3 separate regions of the Homo sapiens genome follow, and regions 2 and 3 are each linked to region 1. Evidence: promoter capture Hi-C in human tissues and cell types (Jung and others, 2019). All regions are on one chromosome and are shown on one strand. The core of a region is centred on a gene start or on the middle of the fragment in contact, and the rest is flanking DNA. Distances in the headings are between cores, read along the strand shown. Region 1 holds the start of CBS (cystathionine beta-synthase). Region 2 overlaps PKNOX1 (PBX/knotted 1 homeobox 1). Region 3 overlaps PKNOX1 (PBX/knotted 1 homeobox 1).

Region 1 (3,891 bases), core at 569-3,068:
TTGAGTGGTTTAAAACAACACACATTGGGCTGGGCGCGGTGGCTCACTCCTGTGAGCCTAGCACTTTTGGGAGGCCGAGGCGGATGGATCACCTGATGTTAGGGGTTCGAGACCAGCTTGGTCAACATGATGAAACCCCGTCTCTACTAAAAATACAAAAATTAGCCTGGCATGGTGGTGCGTGCCTGTAATCCCAGCTACTCGGGTGGCTGAGGCAGGAGAATCGCTTGAACCCGGGAGGCTGAGGCTGCAGTGAGCCAAGATCTCACCATTGCACTCCAGCCTGTGTGACACAGACTCTGTCTCAAACAACAACAACAAAAACAACACCGTTTATCATCTTTCTCTCCCGCAGGCTGGCTGAAGGCTCTGAGGGAGGCCCTGGCCACCTTTCCCAGCCCTGTGGAGGCCGCCAGCCATCCCTGCCATTTCTCGTCTGGTGGCAGCACATCTCATCTCTGCCGCCATCTCCACATGGCCTTTTTCTCTCCGCGTGTCTGTGTCCACGTCTCTCTTCTTATAAAGACTGGACAGGATTTTTTTTTTTTTTTTTTTTTTTTTTTTTTTTTCTGGAGACAGTCTCGCTCAGTCGCACAGGCTGGAGGACAGTGGCGCGATCCCGGCCTCCAATGCCACCTTCCAGAGCCTTCATGATGTAACTCCATCCCTGTCCCCTCCCCACATCGCCGGCTTTATTGTTCTTCGTGTCAGTTCCTGCCAGTGGACATTTAATTCTAATTCACGTCTCACTCCCTCCCCTACTGTGAGCCCCACGTGGCAGAGACCGCGGCGGAGCTGCGCGGGCCGGAGGAGGCTGCGGAGCATCGCTCTGACCTGAGCCGGGGACGCTGCGGAGGCGCAGCACGTTCCTCTGCCCAGAGCTGATGGGCACCGTCCGTGTCTTTCGCTGCAGGTCCGGGGGGAGACTCGGGGGCCTGGGATCCCCCATTTAGCCATAGGGCGGGGGGATCAGGTTCAGCCTCTGAAAGTCCAGAGCACGATGTTTGGGAAACGGCCCCGCCCGCGGCCTCCGGGACCTGGCGAAGGAGCCCCGCGGGGCGCCCCTGCTACCACCCTGCGCGGAGTCGGCCCCGTCCCCGAGAGCGCCCGGCAGCCCCTGGCCGTGGGCCGCACCGGAGCCGCGCAAGGCGACTGTTCTGCGCCTCGGCTCGGGGTTCGGACCCGGCTCTGGGCGCGGTCACGCGGGGCGCTGCGCACGGCGTCCGGCGGCCACAGAGCGCGGCCATCGAGTCCCGCCCCGGCGCGGCGCCCCCTCCCGGGCCCGCGACACACGCCCTCGGGGTCGGTCCTCGAGGACGCGCAGGGCCCCCCACCCACCAGGACGCACGTTTCAAGCTCATCAGTAAAGGTTCCTTAAATTCCCGAAGGGCAAGAAGTTAACCAAGTAAAACAGCATCGGAACACCAGGTAGAAGACACCACCGGGGTCCGCGGGTGGGGGTGGCTGGAACCCGGGGCGGGCGGGCTCAGGCGAAGAGGAAGGCGGGGGAGGGGGCGGCGACCCGGGTCTGCGGTTGAATCAACAGGGCGTGGGAATGGGGCGGGCGGACTGGGGTGGGGGCATGCCGGGGTCCCGGGGAGGGCGGGGGTCGGGCAGGCCGGAGGGTCCCAGGCTGCGGCGGGGTGGGGAAGGGGTGGGGGGGAGGGGCCCGGGCTGGGTGGGGTGGAGGAGGGGCTGGGGGGGCGGGTGCTCTGCCACGAGACATTGGCCGGCGCCGGCCTCCGCCCCCGCCTCTCCGCCAATCACCGCCCGCCTGCTCCCCTCGCCGTGGGTCCCCGCGAGGCCGCCACCCCGGGGTCGCCGTCTCCGCCTCGCCGCAGTCGGGGCAGCCGCTCGCCCCTCTTTTCCATGTATCCGTCCAGGTGAGATCCGGCCCCACCGAGACTCGCTCCCCTCTCTGGACAGAGGATCTCAACTGGGTCCCGGTTTCCCTCTCCGCGCCTCCGCCCAGAGTTGCATCATCTGCACCGAAAGGCGGCGAGACAGGGTCTCCCAAGACCCCCGCCCCACCGGCGCCCACGCCTGCGGTCTTGACCGCCCAGAAGATGGGGGCTGGCCGTGCACGTGGCCCCGGGCTCCCACCCCAGCCCCCGCGCCGGCGGAGTGGACCCCACTGGCGGCGAGTCCTGGAGCGTGGAGCAGGGACGCGGGGTGGGAATCCGGGGGAGATGCACGTTTCGGTGCCCAGCATTGAGTTCGCTGCATTGTGGATGGGAAATGGCTGTTTGCAAATCGCCCTTTTTGGCGGACCGTGTGGGGTGGCGGTAAACGCTGTCGTTGCGCGGGCGGCACGCGAGGTGGGTGCCCGCTGGGGGAGGGACGCGGGGCTCTGCCCAGGTTGCGTTCGGGGGATGGAGGTTTTCCTGGGACCTCACTTCCCTGAGCCCCAGGCGAGACCGCAGCTGAGCTGTAGGATGCAAGCGGGAGGCGGAGCGTGGGTGGGAGAGCGGAGCGCGAAATTCTCGGCTTCCCGAGGATCTTCTGGGCTTACTTGTCCCCAGCTTTGTCCCAAAGTGTCGCTTCCGGAGGCGGAGTGGCCGGCGGTTTCCGGGTCTCAGTAGGGTCTGGATCTCCCACCTGGAAACCTAGAGGAGTTTCCCGCTCTCCGTGCGCGTGGCCTTCCCCAGGCCCCTCCGGGAGTGCTGGCGCGCGAGTGCAGGGGTGCCCCGGGAACGTCGTGACCCCAAGGGGGTCTTGTGGTTTAAGGAGCGAACGGAACCGGCCAGGCGATGCCAGCTGAACCCGCCTTCCCGGGACGCACGTGCATCCGGCCGCCCGGCGCTGTTGTCTTGGGGAGCCCGCGGGTTCGGGTCTGGGTCGCCTGGCGAGCTTTCCGCCGAGCGCCTCTGAGTTCTACAGAGCCCCGACGGCTTGCGATCTGCGTTCCCGGCAGTCCCTTACCTTGCGAGAGAGGGCTCCAGGGCGAGGCGAGGGGCCAAAAGCAAGGCGCTGGGCCGCCTGCGTCTGCCGGGGCCTCGGGTCCACGGCTTTCTGGAAGATTCGGCGGCGGAGCATGCGCGCCCCAGGCCAGACAGGGCCTGTGCCAGACGGAGAGTCCCTTCCCGTAGGTGACTCCCGCGACCCGCGGAGGAAGGTGCTGCTCCGCTCACGGCGGCGGCTTCTTACAAGGTTGGGATAGAAAGAAAAGCGTGGGACACGAACCTCTGAAAGCGGGTGCATTTTTCTGGGGAAGAGAAGATCCAACGCCTTCGGATTTTCAGACAAGTCCGTGGTCCCAAGACCTTGAAAGCACCACCCTCCAGGGTCGTTTGAAGCCGCTTTGGCCCCCAGTCTGGTGAATTGCAAAGGTGGAGGGGAGGCTGGGAAGTCCAGGAGGCCAAGCTGAGGCCTGGGTAGGGCCTGTGCGCAGAGACCACCTGAACAGCATACTCCAAGGGCTTCCAAAGGCAGCCGGCTTCCGCAACTTTTTCTTTTTTAATAGGCTTTTTAAAAAAAAAGCAGTTTTAGGCCGGGCGGGGTGGCTCACTCCTATAATCCCAGCACTTTGAGAGGCTAGGCGGGCGAATCACCTGAGGTCAGGAGTTCGAGACCAGCCTGGCCAACATGGTGAAACTTCGTCTCTACTAAAAATACAAAAATTAGCCGGATGTGGTGGCGGGCGTCTGTAATCCTACTCAGGAGGCTGAGACAGGAGAACTGCTTGAACCCGGGAGGTGGAGGTTGCAGTGAGCCGAGATCGCACCACTGCTCCAGCCTGGGCAACAAGAGGGAGACTCCGTCTCGAAAATTTAAAAAAGAGCAGTTTTAGATTTAGAAAAATTGAAAAAATAGATAGAGTTCCCCCAGTTTCCCCTGTTATTAAGATCTTAAACTGATGTCGTATATTTGTTACTTTATTTATTTTCTTTT
Region 2 (3,891 bases), core at 801-3,300, 63 kb after region 1:
GAACTTTATTAAAATTAAAAAGGCTGGCTCTGAAAAAGACCTGTTAAGAGGATGAGAAAAATACTTAGCTACTATAGACTTGGAGAAAACACTTGCAAACCACATATCCAACAGAGAACTAGTATCTACAATAAGCAAAGAACTCTCAACACTCAGAAGTTAAAAAAAAATCCAACTAAAAAATGCGCAAAAGACGGCCAGGCGTGGTAGCTCATGCTTGTAATCCCAGCACTTTGGGAGGCCAAGGCGGGCGGATCACGAGGTCAGGAGATCGAGACCATCCTGGCTAATACGGTGAAACCCCGTCTCTACTAAAAATACAAAAAATTAGCCGGGTGTGGTGGCAGGCACCTGTAGTCCCAGCTACTCAGGAGGGTGAGGCAGGAGAATGGCATGAACCCAGGAGGCGGAGTTTGCAGTAAGCCGAGATCGCGCCACTGCACTCCAGCCTGGGTGATGGAGCGAGACTCTGTCTCAAAAAAAAAAAAAAAAAAAAGGCAAAAGACATAAGCAGCAGACATTTTATCAAAGAAAATACACAGAGGGTATAATAATGTTCAACATTATTAGCCATCAGGGAAATGAAAATTAAAACCACAAAGAAATATTAATATCACTACATATCATCAGAATGGCTAAAACACAATAGTGCTTCCGCATGGATGAACCCTCCAGGCATTCTGCACAATGAAACAAGCAAAGGATCCAGAAGGACAAACACTGTACGATTCCGCTTAACATGAGAGACCTGGAGTCATCGAATTCACAGAGACAGACAGTAGAACGGTGGGTTCCAGGGGCTAGGGGAGGGGGAATCCGGAATGAGTGTTTAATGGGGTCAGAGTTTGAGTTTGAGAAGATGAGAAAGTTCTGGAGATGGATGGTGTTGATGGTTGCCCAACAATGTGAATAAACTTAACACCATTGAACTGTAAATTTTAAAATAGCTAAGATGGTAAATTTTATATTATGTGTATTTTACACAATTTTTCAAAAGAATAAGTAAAATATTTTCAGAAGAAATAAAAGAAAGAAATGAATGGAATTGTGCCTTCCATAAACATGGGACCGGGGGCCCAGTATGCAGATTGAGGACTCACTTCATAATCTGAGGGAGTTCATTCCCAAACCAGGCTGGGGTCAGAGACCTAGAGGGTCCTTCTTGTAGAAAGTCATAAAGATGACCCAGTGAATTCTGAAAGAGCTGGTGGTCTCATGACTCAATGCAGATGTTCACAGTGGCAGAGAGGGAAAGCGAGACCCCCAAATGTAAGTACCTGGGACTGCACTGGTGAGTACGGGCTTCCAGGCTCTCCACTCAACAGAGTTTCACTGTTCATTTTTGTTTTCAGACAAGCAATGTATCGACTGCAGAAATCTTTGCAGAGTTCGTTAACCTTTTCCAGCTCAAGAAGATGAATGCGCAAAACCTGGATTGCTTTTACCATCTAGAGCAGAGAAAATGAAGACTTTCAGAGAAAAAGGTGGCATTATTGTAAGTTATCATGATCCTACATACCAGTTCTTAGTCATTAGATAGAACCATCTCTACTGCCAATAACCAAAGTGGAATAACATCAGAAATCCTCTAAACTGATGTGTTGTTCCGGTGCCACTGACCTGGGCTTTGGTGTTTGGCTGCATCTGGTGTGCAGGGAAGACAAAGGCGCGTGGTGGTGACCTCGGTGCATCCCAGTGCTAGGTGTGTGGGCTGTGAGCCAAAGCCTAGCCCTTCCACTGATTCGCTCTGTGGCAGGCAGGACAAGTGACTCACCCTCATCTACTCCTGTTTCTACATCCACAAATAGTGATACATCCACACTCACCCTAGGCTAGTGCTACATTTTCATAAAGTTCCATTTTGGTGTCTTTGCCTAGTTCTAGATCCTCAAGATTTTCTCTTGCGATTTTTCTAAAAGTTATATCATTTTGTTTTGTTTTGTTTTTTGAGACAGAGTTTCACTCTTATTGCCCAAGCTGGAGGCTGAAGTGCAGTGGTGCGATCTCAGCTCACTACAACCTCTGCCTTCTGGGTTCAAGTGATTCTCCTGCCTCAGCCTCCTGAGTAGCTGGGATTACAGGTGTGCACCACCATGCCCAGCTAATTTTTGTATTTTTAGTAGAGATGGGGTTTCACCATGTTGGTCAGGCTGTTCACGAACTCCTGACCTCAGGTGATCCACCTGCCTCAGCCTCCCAAAGTGCTGGGATTACAGGCGTGAGCCACCACGCCTGGCCAAAGTTGTATAGTTTTATATTAAGTAACTACATTTTGGGGTAATTTGTCCCACAGCAATAGATAACTAATACCAATAATGCAGCCATTTTCATAAGCACCAGCTGCCTATGAATCAGCAGCTCCGAAGCCCATCTCCTTCACCTGTAAATCTGGTGGTAGGAATTCGTAGGTATCTATGCAGTGAATAAATGAATCACTCAGTAACAAAAATGATGGAGTGTCAAACTCTGCTAGGCCCTGTGCTAAACACTCACCAGTCAAGAGAACCTTGGTCCCTGCCAGCCTAGTGGGGTGCAGAGGACACCTGTGCTCTACTCACTGGGCCAAGCCAGGTGTGGGCCAATGGGAAGATGGATGTGGACCACAGACTCAGGGGTGGAGAGAGCATCGGATCCTCACCCAAAGAGCATGCACTGTTAGTCTCATCTCAGAGAGGAGGAGACAGATTCAAGTCAGATAACTCACCCACAAAATCTGTTTCATGGTAAGCATCGAGTATATAATGAGAATTTTCTTAAAAACTAAGACCTCAGCAATTTATTCAGGAAAAATGAGTTTTCCAAAAACCTTTTCTGTTGAAGGCCCTAACCAGGGTTTTGATATGGGACCAAGATGGCTCGAAGGGAATCCAGTGAAGGTTCCCTGATGCCGGATCTTTGTGTACCCAGCTCTGAGAAGTAAACACGTGGTTACACTCTGGCAGGAGAGCACACCCAGAGAGTGTGGTCTGCCCAAAGCTGACAGTGCTGTACAGGTGCCTCAGGTGCAGCTCATTCAGAGCAATCCAGTGATGACGGAACCAAGATGTTCTCCATTGCCTCTGGAGGGCACAGAAAACGCTGGATTTTGGAGCCCTGGCCCTGGGGGGAGGGCATCACAAATCACTGTCAGCCTCAAGACAGAGCTGTCGCCGGGCGTGGTGGCTCACACCTGTAATCCCTGCACTTTGGGAGGCTGAGGCAGGCAGATCACAAGATCAGGAGATCGAGACTATCCTGGCTAACACGGTGAAATCCCGTCTCTACTAAAAATACAAAAAAAATTAGCCGGGCGTGGTGGCGGGTGCCTGTAGTCCCAGCTACTCGGGAGGCTGAGGCAGGAGAATGGCTTGAACCTGGGAGGCGGAGCTTGCAGTGAGCTGAGATCACACCACTGCACTCCAGCCTGGGCAACAGAGCGAGACTCCGTCTCAAAAAAAAAAAAAAAAAAAGACAGAGCTGTCTTGGAGAATACAGCTCAAGTCTGTGTCCATGTCCATGATAAGCCAAGGACAGACACAGGTCACAGACATGCCACCCGAACACCCCAGCCCTACGGACCTTTACAAACACTGTGCAGAGAACTGAATCCCCGTGTCCATTTGGCATGGAGGCTCAAATTATTTTATTTTATTTTATTTTATTTTTATTTTTTGAGACAGAGTCTCACTCTGACACCCAGGCTGGAGTGCAGTGGCACAATCTCGGCTCACTGCAACTTCCGCCTCCTGCGTTCAAGTGATTCTCCTGCCTCAGCCTCCTGAGTAGCTGGGACTACAGGCATGTGCCACCATGCCTGGCTAATTTTGTATTTTCAGTAGAGATGGGATTTTGGCCAACATCGAGACCAGATGTTGGCCAGGCTGGTCTCGAACTCCTGACCTTGTGATCTGC
Region 3 (3,891 bases), core at 495-2,994, 43 kb after region 1:
TTTTTAAAATACTAAGTCTGCTGACTTTAGCCTCTAAGCATGAACAGTTGTTGGGAGTTATAACACTCTGGACAACAAAGATTAAAAACCCTCTGAAATTGTTTTAATGTACCTTTTAAATCTTCAGGAACTTTCTTGTCATGAAAATTTATAATATGAACTATGAAAGGGATTATGTTAGCTTACTGATGAATCATTATCTTCTTGTAACTATCAAAATAATTAGATTTGTGGAAAACTATAATAAAAAACATAAAAGCTACCTGTTTCCATTTTCTGCCTGAACAGCCAATGAATGAACAAAGTAAGGAATTTAAGAAAAGATTCTTGGACATGTAAATGGACCTGACTAGTCCGATGCAGTGTGGTCCTAGTTTCTCAATATGCAGGGGTGACTACAGACCCTACATGTCACCAGAAAACATGAAAACATTCTCAATGTTTTACATAAAATGGAGAAGCAGCTTTTGGTGACATGAGCTTTATAAAATAAAACATCCATAAAGCAAGTTTCTATTTTTAATTTTTTTGCTTTGATAAATCAATTGCTTCACAAAAATCCTTTTTAAAGACAACAATCCAAGAAAACATATTGTTACAGTATTCACATTTCAAAGATTGTCAGTTTCAAAGACCGAATATAACTAGAACGAAAGATTGCTGAGTTCTTTCTGTCTCTAAGTGCCAGGAATGGGCCTTCACAAGGGGCAGAACCCCCTCTGGACACCCTGGAGTTTGTCTCAATGAAAAGTGCCCACTGCTACCTCACACAGGCAGGAGATGGATCACTCTCAGGTCACACAGACACAACTCCCAGAGCCCTTAGCCGTGAGGGTTTCTTTTGCATGCTCGATAAACACTTCCACTCATCTTACTATCTGGAATCAAAGCGCAAAGGCCAAGCTAGTCCCTCGGTGGGAGCGAGCTGGAACCCAGCACAGCCAGCCCTGCCACTCCTGCTCCACAGGTGCAGGGCAGGAATAACAGCAACATGCTCAATTTGGGTCTCAAGACACATTCAAAAGGAGCCTTCATAGGGAAAAACTCAACAAGAATAAAACTGGAACCGAATCTGATCATTTAAAACGAAATCTTAGAGGGGGTCACACTTTTACAGATTCTCTCCACTGTCCAAGGGCTGGAGAACAGGTGTTTTAAGGTGCCAACTGACCTCAAACATGCTGGGCAGTGATTTTGCAAACTGAAACAGCTTGCCATGTAGAAGCTAGTTAAAAGCACCCATTGCAGAGAGGTTAAAGGAAACTCAGGCTATGTCCATAAGCACCCTTTCTCTAAGTGATCTTTATCCTATTCCTCTGAATTTAGTAAGAATTTAGGAAAGTTGAAGAAAGTTTGCAGCTGGAGAGAATGCACACTGTATCATTCAGCATGGGTGTTTAACTCTCAGGCCAGAGCTTCCCAGTGCCACCGAGGTTCAGGCAGTGCTCTCTTTTTATAGATGGGGGTCTCACTGTGTTGCCCAAGATGGAGTGCAGTGGCTATTCACAGGTGCAAGCATAGTGCACTGCAGCCTCAAACTCCTGGCACATGCCATCCTCTGCCTCAGACTCCCGAGTAGCTGGAACTAGAGGCACGCCCTACTGCGCCGGGCAGGGGCAGCACTCTTAAATTCAATCCACTGCTTAGTGAATGTGATTTCTAGTGGGGGAAAGAAACGGTGACCTATACATGAGTCTACATTCTGTGAATGGCTTCCACTAATCTACACTAAAGAGCAAGCAGCCGAAGAGACGGAGGGTGGTGAGGGAAGGAGGAAGGGCTGGCTGGCTTTCATGGGTGCTTATTTTAAGGAGTCCAACAAAGTTGGAACTTAGGTTAAAAATGATCTTATAGACTTGACTTAAAATATGAGAAGACAGTTCACAAATGAGGAACGCAATGGTGGCTTTAAGATGTCATTCTCGGCCGGGCGCGGTGGCTCACACCTGTAATCCCAGCACTTTGGGAGGCTGAGGCAGGCAGATCACCTGAGGTCGGGAGTTCGAGACCAGCCCGACCAACATGGAGAAACCCATCTCTACTAAAAATACAAAATTAGCCGGGTGTGGTGGCGCATGCCTGTAATCCCAGCTACTCAGGAGGCTAAGGAAGGAGAATTGCTTGAACATAAGAGGTGGAGGTTGCAGTGAGCTGAGATTGCACCATTGCCCTCCAGCCTGGGCAACAAGAGCAAAACTCTGTCTCAAAAAAAAAATGTCATTCTCTCCCCAAAAGACTTGATAACCAAGTCTTTCAGTAAAGCTCCTGAAAGATTTTAAAACAAATTTCTGTGTGTTTCCCACTGACTTCTTAACCTCAATTAATATATTCTTTTGGGAAAAATCAATTCCAGAAAAAACTCTTCACTAGCTTAAAATGTCCCTTGGCTTACAACCAATCATTACTGTTGACTCTCAAGAACTGAAGACATTCCCGACCCTGTAAACAAATGAACTTCAGCCATACCATTTCAGATGATATGAAGACATTCTGTATGAAACACCGTGGCCTGTTTTCTGAGAAAAAGCACCACTCCTAAGTAAACAATGAAAACAAATCAAAACCAAAGAAAACAGAACCCAGCCCACTCTCTCGGTTCATCTTGTTACCAGGAAACAGAAGTCCTACAGTTATTCCAAATCTCACGTGGTCAAGTGAGCAGGAGGGCTCTGAAAAGTCGAAAGCAACAACGTACAAGAGAACACTGACACCAGGAGACCAGCCACAAACGCAAACGTAGGAGCCAACCCGTGGGGGCTGCCGAGGTGCCCTCGCCAGACCAGCTCGCTGCTGGGACTCCAGGGATGTCCGCTAGTTAAGTAATAAAGTCTGAATATCTGCTGTTTGCCCTAGCTCTGAGCCAATGGGGTAGAGCACATTTTATATTAGTTTATAATAAACATTCTGTGCATAACATATTTTGAAGTTAAAACTTTTAAAACAATACACAGCTAACATGGTAAAGCGACCATGCAACTGTGGTCAGATTTAAATTAGACTGGAGTATGTACGGTGAGAGCTCCTAACGGGTCACTGGCTACCATTTCACCTCACTTACCTGAAGTCCTGTTTAGCAGATATCTTTCGATATATGTTTAGATCAAGTGTAAAATGCAATCTGAGCATTACATATCAACAAAAATTTGCAGATATCAAAATTTCATTAAATAGCTGTTTCTTTTATAGTAGTAAATGTTCATCACTACCCGGGGAGAGCAAAGAACCATGGAACGGTAGCTAACTTTGGGCAGGTTCATTAAATTTGGTCAATTCAGAACATTCCAAATTGAAATATTAATAGCAAGCATGTATTGTTTCTTCTCTAGAAATTTTATCCTCAATATAGTCATCATCCAATTCATAACGAATTTATAAAAATAGCTTTTTTATCCAATAATTCCAGCAAGGTAAAAATAGGAGTTTCTTTTTCTATATAGCAAATGAAACAGGCTCACTGAACATGAGGGGACTTAGGCTTGCTAAGCTTGCCGTCCATCCACTCACGACGAAACCACACTCAGTCTAGGCGTGTGCCGTTGTCACCGCACACTGGCAGTTTCGGGTGCAGCAGCTTCTTTCAAATCCATGGGCCACACAAATCAACCAGCCCACTGAGATCTGCTGGAACCACAGAACTAAGTGACAACCGCATCACGGTTTAGAAAATGGCAGCGCTATTCCTTAATCTAATTAGGGATTCAAGGTGGGGAGGGAGTGGTGTGTCATTCCTCACAATCTAGCGTTAAACCTTTAAAGAATTTCTTTAAAAATCCACACACACGCACACACGCACACACACACACACACACACACACACACACACTTGAAAGAAGTCGCTGCACCGGCAAAGACGCGCTTTAAGCTTACTATGAAATACAAAAGTGCACTCTT

Evidence for each region. The method cuts DNA at HindIII sites, captures the fragments that hold promoters and counts their contacts. A contact is called where the count stands out against the background at its distance.
Region 2: a contact is called between a fragment that was not itself captured here and the fragment with the promoter of CBS in region 1, in 3 of the 25 tissues and cell types used here (hippocampus, lymphoblastoid cells and mesenchymal stem cells).
Region 3: a fragment that was not itself captured here is called in contact with the fragment with the promoter of CBS in region 1 in 8 of the 25 tissues and cell types used here (IMR-90 fibroblasts, aorta, dorsolateral prefrontal cortex and 5 more).

The regions. Positions count from the first base shown.
Region 1 is chr21:43,073,762-43,077,652 of GRCh38, reverse strand. It overlaps CBS (cystathionine beta-synthase), which reads left to right and starts at 1,818. Exons shown (of 17, transcript NM_000071.3): 1 at 1,818-1,883. The HindIII fragment of the contact is 35,360 bases long and covers 1-3,891 here.
Region 2 is chr21:43,010,625-43,014,515 of GRCh38, reverse strand. It overlaps PKNOX1 (PBX/knotted 1 homeobox 1), which reads right to left. Exons shown (of 11, transcript NM_004571.5): 5 at 1,278-1,448. Among named protein-coding and RNA genes, the nearest start is that of PKNOX1, 38 kb to the right of the region's middle. The HindIII fragment of the contact is 7,946 bases long and covers 1-3,891 here.
Region 3 is chr21:43,030,193-43,034,083 of GRCh38, reverse strand. It overlaps PKNOX1 (PBX/knotted 1 homeobox 1), which reads right to left. Exons shown (of 11, transcript NM_004571.5): 11 at 153-3,891. Among named protein-coding and RNA genes, the nearest start is that of CBS, 44 kb to the left of the region's middle. The HindIII fragment of the contact is 5,777 bases long and covers 1-3,891 here.